4 separate regions of the Homo sapiens genome follow, and regions 2, 3 and 4 are each linked to region 1. Evidence: promoter capture Hi-C in 16 types of primary human blood cells and fetal thymus (Javierre and others, 2016). All regions are on one chromosome and are shown on one strand. Each heading gives the region's core, a stretch centred on a gene start or on the middle of the fragment in contact. The rest is flanking DNA. Distances are from core to core; before and after follow the strand shown. Region 1 holds the start of ZNF383 (zinc finger protein 383). Region 2 holds the start of ZNF529 (zinc finger protein 529). Region 3 holds the start of ZFP14 (ZFP14 zinc finger protein). Region 4 holds the start of ZFP82 (ZFP82 zinc finger protein).

Evidence for each region. Contacts are between HindIII fragments. The CHiCAGO score rates a contact against its expected background, and 5 or more counts as called.
Region 2: a contact is called between the fragment with the promoter of ZNF529 here and the fragment with the promoter of ZNF383 in region 1, in 1 of 17 cell types (fetal thymus). The highest score is 5.1, in fetal thymus.
Region 3: the fragment with the promoter of ZFP14 here is called in contact with the fragment with the promoter of ZNF383 in region 1 in 1 of 17 cell types (total B cells); the score reaches 6.3 in total B cells.
Region 4: a fragment that was not itself captured here is called in contact with the fragment with the promoter of ZNF383 in region 1 in 1 of 17 cell types (total B cells); the score reaches 5.8 in total B cells.

The regions. Positions count from the first base shown.
Region 1 is chr19:37,216,541-37,219,463 of GRCh38, reverse strand. It overlaps ZNF383 (zinc finger protein 383), which reads right to left and starts at 1,250. Exons shown (of 6, transcript NM_001387601.1): 1 at 1,190-1,250. RefSeq lists an enhancer at 1,135-1,624. The HindIII fragment of the contact is 5,435 bases long and covers 1-1,939 here.
Region 2 is chr19:36,572,001-36,574,941 of GRCh38, reverse strand. It overlaps ZNF529 (zinc finger protein 529), which reads left to right and starts at 1,650. Exons shown (of 5, transcript NM_020951.5): 1 at 1,650-1,802; 2 at 2,550-2,609. The coding sequence starts at 2,596. It overlaps ZNF529-AS1 (ZNF529 antisense RNA 1), which reads right to left and starts at 1,593. Exons shown (of 5, transcript NR_173348.1): 1 at 1,387-1,593; 2 at 42-121. RefSeq lists an enhancer at 1,504-1,593. The HindIII fragment of the contact is 11,229 bases long and covers 1-2,941 here.
Region 3 is chr19:36,377,744-36,380,834 of GRCh38, reverse strand. ZFP14 (ZFP14 zinc finger protein) reads left to right here and starts at 1,634. Exons shown (of 5, transcript NM_020917.3): 1 at 1,634-1,672. RefSeq lists a silencer at 1,438-1,527. The HindIII fragment of the contact is 12,200 bases long and covers 1-3,091 here.
Region 4 is chr19:36,418,393-36,421,408 of GRCh38, reverse strand. It overlaps ZFP82 (ZFP82 zinc finger protein), which reads left to right and starts at 2,765. Exons shown (of 5, transcript NM_133466.4): 1 at 2,765-2,917. It also overlaps the pseudogene ACOT4P1. The HindIII fragment of the contact is 563 bases long and covers 1,013-1,575 here.

The DNA of each region.
Region 1 (2,923 bases), core at 1-2,500:
GACCAACACGGAGAAACCCCGTCTCTACTGAAAATACAAAATTAGCAGGGCGTGGTGACACACGCCTGTAATCCCAGCTACTAGGAAGGCTGAGGCAGGAGAATTGCTTGAACCGGGGAGGCGGAGGTTGCGGTGAGCCGAGATTGCGCCATTGCACTCCAGCCTGGGCAACAACAGCGAAACTCCGCCTTAAAACAAAACAAAACAAAAACAGAGAAGTGTAGGCTGTCATGAGCATTCTTGGTATCAGAGGGGTGAGGTCTCTCCTCTCGAGAATCTGTCCTGACCTCACAGGGAGAGCTGGAGTCACAAAGACAGTCACAAGCACCCCCTACCCAATGCTGCAGTCACCCAGCCACCATGGGGACCCACATAGACCTCCACAGGCACGCCTCACCCAAACAATAACACTATATATGGTCACACAATCATTGTCCCACATCTACCTTGAGGATAAGTTACACTAGCATATTTACAGACCCCTCAAACATAGCACCATTCAGAACCAGAGTGCTACAGATAGTCACAATACCACACGCACTACTGAGCCACACAAAGTTACAGTTCCCCCCTCCCCAGGACCCCTATTGAGCACTACACACAATCACACATTCAAAATAACACAATGACCACTAGGACACACATATCACCCCGGCACGATTACACGCACTTTCCAACCGCAGACACAGTGCTACATAAAGTTACATGGTCACACTCTCACATTCTCACGTTACTGGGTTATTTCTGGGTAGTAGATTTACTCAGTAAGGCATCCAGTACACTTAAGTGCTGCTAACAGTCATACAAACACAATTACACACACCCCTCAGACTAACACACAGTCACAGCCTCATCAGATTCTCTCCACACAAACACCCTCCACAAATGTCACGCAAAGTTACACAGCCACACACAATCACAGTCCCAACACGGGACACAGTCATACCTACACATACAGCCTTACATTGTTACAATTACACAACTACAACGAGGATATACAATCACACCCGCGCACACAGAGAGGCACAGTCACATAAGGTCACACTCACACACGGAAGCCCACGCCTCGCGCCCGCCTCCCCACCACCCCCTCTATCAGCCCGACCAACTCATACATGCCCGACACACTCATACATGCCCAACACTCCAGACCAGCCTGGTCAGTCCCTTCAAACTCCCATGCACGTACCTGCGGGCCCCAGCCGAGCCTGCAAGACCCAGGCCGCTCACCGCGCACTTCCCCTACCCTTGAGGCGGAGGGTCCAGCAGGCAAATGAAGGGGCTGCCCTGGACTCGCGGGGGCCTCTGGGAAATACAGTCCGGAGTAGGACCGCGCCGAGAAGATGGCGCCTGTTTTTTCGGGTTCTTGCAGCTGCACAGCTCGGGGACATCCCTGCTCCGCACTCCGAACCGCTACCCCGCGTCTCCGTGATCCAGACACAGGCTCAGAGTGAAACTGCCGTAGGACGCTGGCCCTGCACGCTGAAGACAATCTTCCTCCATGGTACCGGCCAACCCCAGGGAGTTCCCTGAGAAACAGGAAAAGGTCGCCAGCTTCGGGCCAGATGTTGACTAGAGCCGCAAGGATTTTTGGGAACTGTAGTCTAGAGCAGGAAGGGGTGAGGCGCTGGGGCAAGTGGAAGGAGGTCGCTTAAATGACTTCCTGCCCCAAGCCGACTCAGTGCAGAACGCACCCAGGACCCCGGACTGTACTAGGCGTTATAACGCTCTCTGAGAATGCTAGACTGACTAAATCGTCATTTTTGCCTTCATCCGTGGATAAGCCACATACTGTATGACTGCATTTATAGGAAATATTTAAAATAGTCAAATCTACGGAAAAGGAGTAAGTTAGAGTTTTTTAGGACTAGCAGGATTAGGGGGAACTGTGAGTGATTGGTAATAGCTAAAGGGTTCATTTTTGGGGTAATGCAAAGCTTCTTGAATTAGATAATGATGTTTGCACAACTCTGAATACACTAAAAGTGACTGAATGGTACACCATAAACGAGCTAATGTTATAGTTTGTAAATTATATTTGTGTGCATGTTTTTTAAAAATCAACTTTACTGAAGAATAATTTAGATACAATAAAATGCACTCATTTTAAGTGAACTGTTCGGTAAGCTTCAACGCATGTCTAAACCCTTGTCACCACCATCGTAATCAGGATATAGAATATTTTTTAAAATTAAAAAATTTTTAAGCATTTTAGTTAAATTTTTGTGGGTACATAGTAGTTGTATATGGGGTACATGAGATGTTTTGATACAGGCATGCAATGCGTAAGAATCATATCATGTAAAATAGGGTGTCTATCCCCTCAAGCATTTATCCTTAGTGTTACTGGATATAGAATTTTTTTTTTTTTTTTTTTGAGTTGGAGTCTAGCTGTCACCCAGGCTGGACTGCAGTGGCGAGATCTCGGCTCACTGCAAGTTCCGCCTCCCGGGTTCAAGCGATTCTCCTGCCTCAGCCTTCCGAGTAGCTGGTATTACAGGTGCCCGCCACCATGCCTGGCTAATTTTTGTATTTTTAGTAGAGACAGGGTTCGAGCTCACAGGCTGGTCTCGAACTCCCGACCTCGAACTTCTGACTTCGTGATCCGCTCGCCTCGGCCTCCCAAAGTGCTGAGATTACAAGCGTGAGCCACCGCGCCCGGCGGATATAGAATATTTTTATTCACCGCCCTCTGCCCCCCACATTGTTAAGTCAATCCCCACCTCCCAAACCCCACATCAGGCATCTATTGACTATTCTAAGGAATGAGCAGTAGTATCAAATTATGTTTTTAATTTGCATTTCCTGATGTCAATGAACTTAGCATACTTTCATATACTTATTTGCCATTCTTTTATCTTCTTTTGTGACATCTATTGAAAATATTCGGCTGGGCGCAGTGGCTCACGCCTGTAATCCTAGC
Region 2 (2,941 bases), core at 401-2,900, 640 kb after region 1:
AAAGGCTTATCAGCTTCTTGGAAAGTTAAATGTAAACTTACCAATTACCCAGCAACTTTTCTTCTAAATATTTGCCCAGGAGAAATGGAAACGTGCCAGCTTTATTCGTAATGTATAAAACCTGTAAATATGCCAAATGTTCAACAACAGAAAAATGACTACACAAATTGTGGTATATTTGCACAATGGAGTGCTGTTCAGAAAAAGAAAAATGAACTACACATGAAATCTCACACACATTAGGGTAAACTAAAGGAGAAATATGGAATTCCGGAACTGACAGTTACAGTGACACAAATCAGAACTATGGCTGTCTCTGCTTTGAAACTGACTGGAAAGGACACCAGCAAACTCCGGTGGTGCTGGTGTTGTAAACCAAAAATAAAATCCTAAGCACACCCAGACCATCTTGAATGGACCCCTCCTCTTGGCCAGGGCATTCCTAACCTGAAAAACTAGTAAAGCCATGATGGAAAGGCGGGGGTGGGCGGGTCGGACATGCTTCATTATACCCTCCTCCATTTTGGAATTACTGATAGAAAAGACCCCAAGTCTGAAAAGAAACATTTACAATCTATTCTCTGTGAAGCGTGCTACCTGGAGACATTCCTAAGTCTTACGTCAATAACTCTTTCAACCCATTGCCAATCAAATAATCTTTGAATCTACCTATGACCTGGAAGGCCAGCCACCTTCCAGCTGTCCCGCCTTTCCGGAGGGAATCAATGTACATTTTACATGTATTTGATTGGTGTCTCATGTTTCCCTAAAAGGTATAAAACCACATATATCCCGTCCACCCTGGGCACAGGTTCTCAAGATCTCCTGAGGGCTGGGCCACCGGCCATTGGTCACTCATATTTAGCTCAGAATAAGTCTCTTCAAATACTTTAGAGTCTGAGTCTTTTCGTCAACAGTGTAAAACACGCCCTAAGGCAGACACACACACACTGAACCGCCGCTACCTGCCAGATTCCATCTGGGGCCTTTCTCATGGTGCAAAACGGACAAAAACTCCAAGTCACCCTCAGGTTTACGACCACGGGTCACATCCTGAGGCCCCCACACTTAGAAGCCAGAGTGGAGCAAAACCTCGCCCGACTCAGGCTCCGAGTTCTCCCCTCGACCCTCCCCAGCCTAAAGGCTGTACCCGCTTCAGGCCTTCCCAGCCCGGCCCTCCAGTTCCTTCTTCGGCCTCCCTCAGCCTGGGGTCCGGGTTTCCTCCTCGGCTGAGCAGCCGGGTCCGCGACTCCCTTCACCCTCCCCGGCCCGGGCTTCCGGTTCTTTCCAGAGGTGAGGCAGGGGCCACCTAGAATTCCGCGGCCCCCCACCTCCCCCAAGACCACCCTCGCCCCAGCTTCCTGTTCCCCATTCTGTCCTCCCAACCTGGGTTCCCGATTACTGCCTCGACTTCACCTTGCCGTCAGGGACCACCAGCCGCCTCTTCCGCGCCTAGGGGACGCGCAGCGGCAGCCTCTGCTGATGGCAAGGGTCTGCGCACCCGGAAACTCCAGGGTCTGGGGCGTGGTGCGGCCCCTGCGGCCAGCGGGCTCCGCTTGAGCTTCAGGGCTCTTTCGTTGTTGGACTACGTTTCCCACAGGCCTCAGGGCCGCGGATGAACTTCGACCTTTGCTTCCTTTTCCGGTGTTGTGGTTATTGAGTTAAGCCTGGCGAGTCGAGGTGACCCGGGCCGGGCTGCGGGAGGAGCTCGCGGTGAGGTGGCCCCGCGCTGCCGGGCGAGGTCGGTCCACGTGGAGCCGGGAGCCTGAGGCCTCTGTACGCGGGAGCTGCGGACGATGGTGGTTAGTGCTATTGTTTACGACGTCATTGTGGTGTGTGTGTGTGAGAGACGGAGACCCTAGTGTGTGCCGTGGGTGCTGTTTGATCGGACTCAGGACGGTGAGTAGGGGCGGGGTCTATCGTGTGACCCTGGTCTACGGTGACGTGATCGTGTGACAGCACTGTTGTGACCAACTATAAGTGTGAACGGGGTAGAAGTGTTTTTTTGTTTTTTTTTGTTTGTTTGTTTGTTCGTTTTTTTCCGTGAGCCTGTAGGAGTTTGTTTTGGGTAAAGCGTCATTTTTCCGACTCTGTGATGTCTGTGATGGAATCTCTTCGTGAGGTCTTATACACACACACACACGCATATAGATAGATTACATAGATGATATATAGAAGATAGATAAATGATAGATAATAGATAGATAGATAGATAGATAGATAAGATAGATAAATGAAGTTTCCTGGGAAGACGTGAAGGGGAGGGCATAGGTGTAGTATTCATTCCTGGGATAACTCCCCTTGCATGAGTTTGGAGGCCATTTATACATTAAAGAACTACAGTATTTCCTGAGCTGTGTTCCCTAGAAACTGCTAGGCATTGGTCGTACCTTTTTCTCGGATGTGGGGAGGAGTCGACAGTATTCTAGTTTCCCTCTTCGATCTGGGTGTGTTTGTTGTGTGTGATGGGCTTTTCTGGTGGTGAACACTGTGTTCTTATTTAACCAGTCCAGGATGTCATGAGTCCTTTCTCCCTCTTGGTTATGTAGTTCTGCAAGTGAAGGCCCCCTGAAGTGGAAGACAGCATTGGTACTAATGGCCAACTCAAGGTTAGTTTTTTTTTTTGTTCATTTACCTGGTCCCTTGGTTTTCTCTTCCCAATTAACAACAGGACCGTAGAGATGGGTCCCCTTGTCCTCCATTGCCTTTCCAAATGCCCATTTCCCTTTCATTGAATATTCACATATGCATTAGGTAAATCATTCAATTCTCCCATGTGCTTCTTTTTTTCCAAAGGATTTTTATGGTATAGAAATACAACTCCTGGAGGAGAAGTTAAAACTTTTTTTTAGAATGTAATTTGTTAAGGAGGAGACGAGTGATTAAGTAGAATGGCACACTAGATACCTTTGATCTTATTTACAGACTTGATTTGCAAACA
Region 3 (3,091 bases), core at 385-2,884, 840 kb after region 1:
AGGACCGTGATTTTGAATTAAAAAAATACTTTGGGCCTTCGGCCTTCTTAGTAGTTTTTTTTGTTTTGTTTTGTTTTCGTTTTTGTTTTGATACGGCGTCTTGCTCTGTCGCCCAGGCTGGAGTGCAGCTGCACGATCTTGGCTCACTGCAACCTCCGTCTCCCTGGTTCAAGCGATTCTTCTGCCTCAGCCTCCCGAGTAGCTGGGACTACAGGTGTGCGTCACCATGCCCAGCTAAATTTTTTTGTATTTTTAGTAGAGACGGGGTTTCACCATGTTGGCCAGGCTGGTCTCAAACCCCTGACCTCAGGTGATCCACCCGCCTCGGCCCCCCGAAAGTGATGGGATTATAGGCGTCAGCCACCGCGTCTGGCCACCTTCTTAGTAGTTATAAAGTAGCTCAGATTTTTCATTTATCTCCTATTTCATGCATATCCTATTGTTTGCAAAATGAAACCAGATTGCCGAGGCATTTTCAAATATCTTCTAAAGTTTTATATTCTTAAGGAAAGAACAAATTCTTTCATGTATTAACTAATATATCAAAGAATTTGGGATACAGAAGATGCCTCAGGGTGGTCCCTGGTGGGCTTATCCCATTTCTTTCCTGAAGGAACGCAGGACAGGACAAATTCAGTCTCATTGGAGACAGACCTCTCCAGTTAGTCTTTTTCTTTTGAAACGGAGTTTCGCTCTTGTTGCCCAAGCTGGGGTGCAATGGCGGATCTCAGCTCAATGCAACCTCCGCTTCCCGGGTTCAAGCGATTTTCCTGCCTCAGCCTCCTGAGTAGCTGGGATTACAGGCGCGCGCGACCACGCCCGGCTAATTTTTTGTATTTTTAGTAGAACAATACATTCACAACTGCAGGAGATACGAGACACACACACACACACACACACACACACACACACACACACACACAGAGACAGAGACAGAGTGGGAGAAAGGGAGAGGGCAGTGAGCACGAGCGACCTTTCTAGGTTTACGTCCTGCTCCAGGTTCTGGTGGGCTTTGAGAGTATTTTCATTGCATGCCTGATGTGTGCCCACACCTTGCTTGGGTGTATGCAGTGAGTAACTGGTAGGTGTTTAGTACACATATTAGGCATCTGCTGGTGCCAAAACTTCTTTCTAAATCCTCCGCGGCTGAGCCTGGTGGCTCACGCCTGTAGTCCCAGCACTTTGGGAGGCTCAGGCGGGAGGATCTTTTAAGCCCAGGAGTTCGACACCGGCTTGGGTAACATAGGGAGATCTGGTCTCTATAAAAACTTAAAAAATGAGTTGGGCGTGGTGGCGCGCGCCTGCAGTCCCAGCTACTCTGGAGGCTCGGGTGGGAGGGTCGCTTGAGCCCGGGAGGTCGCGGCTGCAGTGAGCTCTAATCACGCCACTGCACTCCAGCCTGGGCGACAGAGTAAGACCCTGTCTCAAGAAAATAAACAAATAAAAGTCTTCCTCAGCGACAAAAGCAAACGCAAGCCCGAGCTCGCCTCAGCCCCACGCAGCGCGGAGGGCCTTCCCGCCCCGAGCGCACCCGGGGCTCCGGCCCCCGCGCATGCGCACTCCGCGCAGCCCGTTGGGGCTGGAACCAGTCCCTCCCATCGGCGGACTACATTTCCCACAGGCCTCCGCTCGCAGTTCTTTCCGGCTTCGCTGCTGGTGTCGGCTCCGAGAGGTGAGTTGGTCGCTTGCACCGAGGCAATGGGCGCGGGGGTGGCGCGGGGGCGGCGCAGACCTCAGTGTGAGCCAGGAGGCAGTAGCTGTGGAGTTTGTGGCGCTGACTGGGCGCCGGGTGCCCTGTTGCGTCCTCTGCCTTCTCGCTTCAGAGCCGCCCAGGTCCAGCGGCCCGGAATGGCTCCGAGTTAGATACAGGAACCCCGGAGTGAATGAAGGCCCCCAAACAAAAAGACGCAGTCTGAAGAACTGCAGATTGCACAGCTTTACCCGAGCTCCCTCCCATGGAAACTGCGGGGAACTCGGAGACAGATCCCAGCCCCGTCTTCGTGTACCTGGCCTTTCGCTCTGATACGGGAAAGGGTCAGCTTTATTCCAGGCTCCCTGTTATTTCCATCGGGTTTTGCGCGCAGTAGACGGAGGGAGCAAGTGCGCTAGCGGGGGTGTGTCCTGCTCAGCCAAGGCCGGCTCCAGGAAAGGCCCGCGGTCTCAAGATTCCCGTCTCCTTTCCCAATCCTGCTGTTCTTTAGGAAGGCAGCGGGGAGAGGAGGAAATGATTGCTGTTGCATATAGACAAGTCAACATCCAGATGAGTTTGTGTTTCCGTTTTGTTCCATGAAGTGTAATTTTTATTTTTTCTGGGCGTGGGGGCATTTGCTTTCCTCTTCTGTGGAATGAAAATCAGCTCGGACTGAACAATGAAGCAGCTCTGTCATTAATCAGGCTAGGAAGGAAGAGACAGATAAAGCCAGTTGCAAAATTAATAGAAAACATGATTTCTCCCCAGGTGGTGCAGTAGTTGTAAAATGGCATAATGACTCCCTCTTTGAGAGATTACAGTTTTCTTACCAGTGATGTTCTAGACTTGCTTTGCTGTTTTCATTTTATTACTGGGGATACCCTCTTGATTACACTCATGATTGCATTCAATATCTCATTAATCCCTGCCTCTCCTAATCTCACCTCGGAAACAGCAGCCATTCCAGATTGCAGCTGTCATTAGATCCTCCTTAGAATCTTTCAGCTGGAACTCAACCGTTTACGAAAGAGCTTTTCTCGTCTCTCTCGTCCATTCTATTCCAACCCTTCCTGTGGAATTTTCTCCCTTTCTGCCAGTCAATAGATATGATTTTGTCAGACTATGCGGGCTTGTTCCAGTTAATCTTCAGCTAGTTAGACTTTAACCCCTGAAATGTCCTGTCCACTGACCTGGTGCTTTGGCCTTCCTTCCCAGTGAATGATGGGGTGATGAAGGTAGATTCCAATTCCTACCCCTTTCCAGTAGGTTTGTTTTGTTTTGTTTTTTTTTGTATTTTTTGAGATGGAGTCTGGGTCTGTTACCCAGGCTGGAGTGCAGTGGCACGATGTGCTCACTGAAACCTCCGCCTCCCGGGTTCAAGCAGGATTCTCCTGCTTCAGC
Region 4 (3,016 bases), core at 45-2,544, 800 kb after region 1:
CCAGAAAGCGCCTGGGACTTTAGACCAGTTAACCCGGCGCCCTGGACTCGTCTGAGGCAAAAGGAGCCAGACTCCTCTCCTGGGTCCTCTCCTTGGGCCCCGGGGAGCGCAGACTTTTTTTTTTTTTTTTTTCCTTTTTTTAATTTTGAGACAGGGTCTCGCTCTGTCGCCCAGCCCGGAGTGCAGTGGCCGATCCATAGCTCACTGTAATCTCGATCTCACAGGCTCAAGCTATCCTCCTGCCTTGGCCTTCCGAGTATGTGGGACTACAGGCATGAGTCATCACGCCTGGCCTAAGCCATCACGCCTGGCCTGATTTTTTTTTTTTACTTGGAAAAAAATATATACTTCACTCCCACAAAGTATTATTTTAGACTCCTGCCCCGTTATTCCTAGAGAATTAAAATTTCCAAGTAAAGTAAAAACAAAAAAGTAGTGAAGACAGAAGAGTATTTAACCATATCGCTGTAGAAAATTGTATTGAATATTCTAAGGCATGTGCTTGTCCTTTTTGTGTCTGTTGGTAGAAAAAGAATAAACATTAAACTCAGCTTAGTATTTCCAAAGTAGTAAGAAACACTTTTGCACATAAGGATACTTTGGGAAACCTTGTTTCCCCCACTGTCTTTACACTGAGTGAGTAACAAGGCTCTGTAAAGACGCAGGGGAATTGGTCACTAGCAGGCAAGGCAGACATCAAGCACTGTAAGAAATCAGAGACTGACTTCAAAGAAAACTCAGCGTTTACTGATAAATTGTGTTATATTACCCCATCAATGGCTAGCCTTCATGCCATGAAAATGCATCCATGTTAATGATGTCACTGTCTTACCTAACTGCAGGTGACAGCTGCCATGACATAGAAATGACATTGAACTTAAGGAAAACACTATACTGTTGCAAAATCCTTGTTAAAACCAAACATCTTAAATGCATTTGAAGCAGCGTGTCTAAGCCACGTAAAATCAAACCCTTGATAGTTATTAGCTGGCCTTCTTCTATAAAGAAAGCTTTCTTTTTTCTTTGTGCTTATTTAATGGGGTACAATCAATTATAGACATAATTGGTGGCACAGGGAAAATAATTATTTCAAGTAGTTTTTAAACACTAGCTGTATAACTAAGAGGGACATATAAAAACAGGGATTGGCAAACTTTTTCTTTAAAGGGCCTGATAGTAAATACAGTCAATCTTCATTCACAGATTCTGAATTTGTGAATTCATCTACTTGCTAAAACTTTTTTATAAACCCAGAGTCAATATTTGCAGCACCTTTGTGGTCATTTGTGGACATCCGAAGAGCGGTGAACCTTTTTGAGTCCCTTAACAGGCATGTTCTCAGCCAAAGTCAAACAAAGTGACCCTCTATCTTCTTATTTCAGCTCTCATACTGTAAACAGGTACCCTTTTTGCAGTCCATTTAGTACCTTGGCTTCTCATATTTTTGTTTTTTGCTGGTGATTTTGCTGTTTCAAAGGGACCCCAAATGTAGTAGTACTAAAGTGCTGTTGATGTTCCTATGAATGAGAAAGCGGTCATGTGTCTTACAGAAAAAATACATGTGTTAGATAAGCTTCATTCAGGCATGAGTTATGGAGCTGTTGGCCATGAGTTCAATGTTAATGAATCAATAATATATATTAAAGTGTTTAAATAGAAACACAATAAGGCCAGGCGCGGTGGCTCATGCCTATAATCCCAGCACTTTTGGGAGGCCAAGGCGGGTGGATCACCTGAGGTCAGGAGTTTGAGACCAGCCTGGTCAACATGGTGAAACTCCGTTTCTACAAAATACAAAAATCAGCTGGGCATGGTGACATGCATCTGTATTCCCAGCTACTCTGGGGGCTGAGGCAGGAGAATTGCTGGAACCCGGGAGGCGGAGGAGGTTGCAGTGAGCCAAGATCCCACCACTGCACTCCAGCCTGGGTGACAGAGCAAGACCCTATCTCAAAAAAAAAAAAAAAAAAGAAAAAAAGAAAATAAACACAATAAAATAAGCTTATGCATTCATCGGTTGACTAAAATGTGACCAGATGCTTACAGGAAACTAACCCTGTATTTCCCCTAGAAGCAGTGGAATGGTATTCACTAATTCCGTGTTTGTAGCAAGTTTATAGACCATAACTACTGTGAATAGTGAGAACTGACTGTATTTTAGGCTGCGTGGGCCATCTGGTCTGTGTAACTACTCGAGTCTGTCCTTGTAGCTCAAATATAGCAATAGACAGTACACAATCAAACACGGCTATGTTCCAATAAAACTTTTATTTATGGACACTGAAATTTGACATGTATGATTTTCATATTTCACAAAATATTGTTCTCCTTTTCATTGTTTTTACCATTTAAAAATACAGAAATGGAAAATATAGGAACTGGCTTCCCCGAATCTCCGGAGTCACACGGTCTCAAATCCCAACAGCCACACCCAGTGAAAGAATCCCACCCAGGAGCGCGCCAGGGACAGACTCGCAGCGCCGTCCTCGCTCACAGGGCTCCCTAGTTGGCACTATAGAGAGGCGGTCGCGGGCGCCCCTCTTTAACGCGCCAGCCATCTGTCCCCGCTCCCCTCCAGGCCCTGCCGCGCCGTCCCCAGGCGCTAAGGGACTCGAAGCGCAGCCTCGCTGGGACGGACCTAGCTCCGGCTCCGGGTTCACGCAGAGCAGGGGCTGCACCAGCGAGCGGACCCTTGAGACTGGCCGCGCCTGCGCACTCCGTGAGCGCGCCCGGCCCTCCCAGCAGCCTCCGCGCGCAGCCCGTTAGGCCCCGGGGATTGTGGCGTGACCCGGCAGCGGCTTCCTCCGTTCGGGCATCGCTGTGCCTCGGGTTCGCGCCCCGAGTGAGCAGTCCTGGCCCGGAGCGTCGGTCCTGGTAATCTGTAGGAAAAGCGCTGCGGCCCAGGGGGTAAAGAGAGGTAAGCGGGGCCACTGCAGTATCGCAGAGGGGCGGGAGCCCGCGCCTCAGGCCCGGGTGTGTGTGTCGTGGGCGTGACGGGGCCGGGGCTGGGACGTGA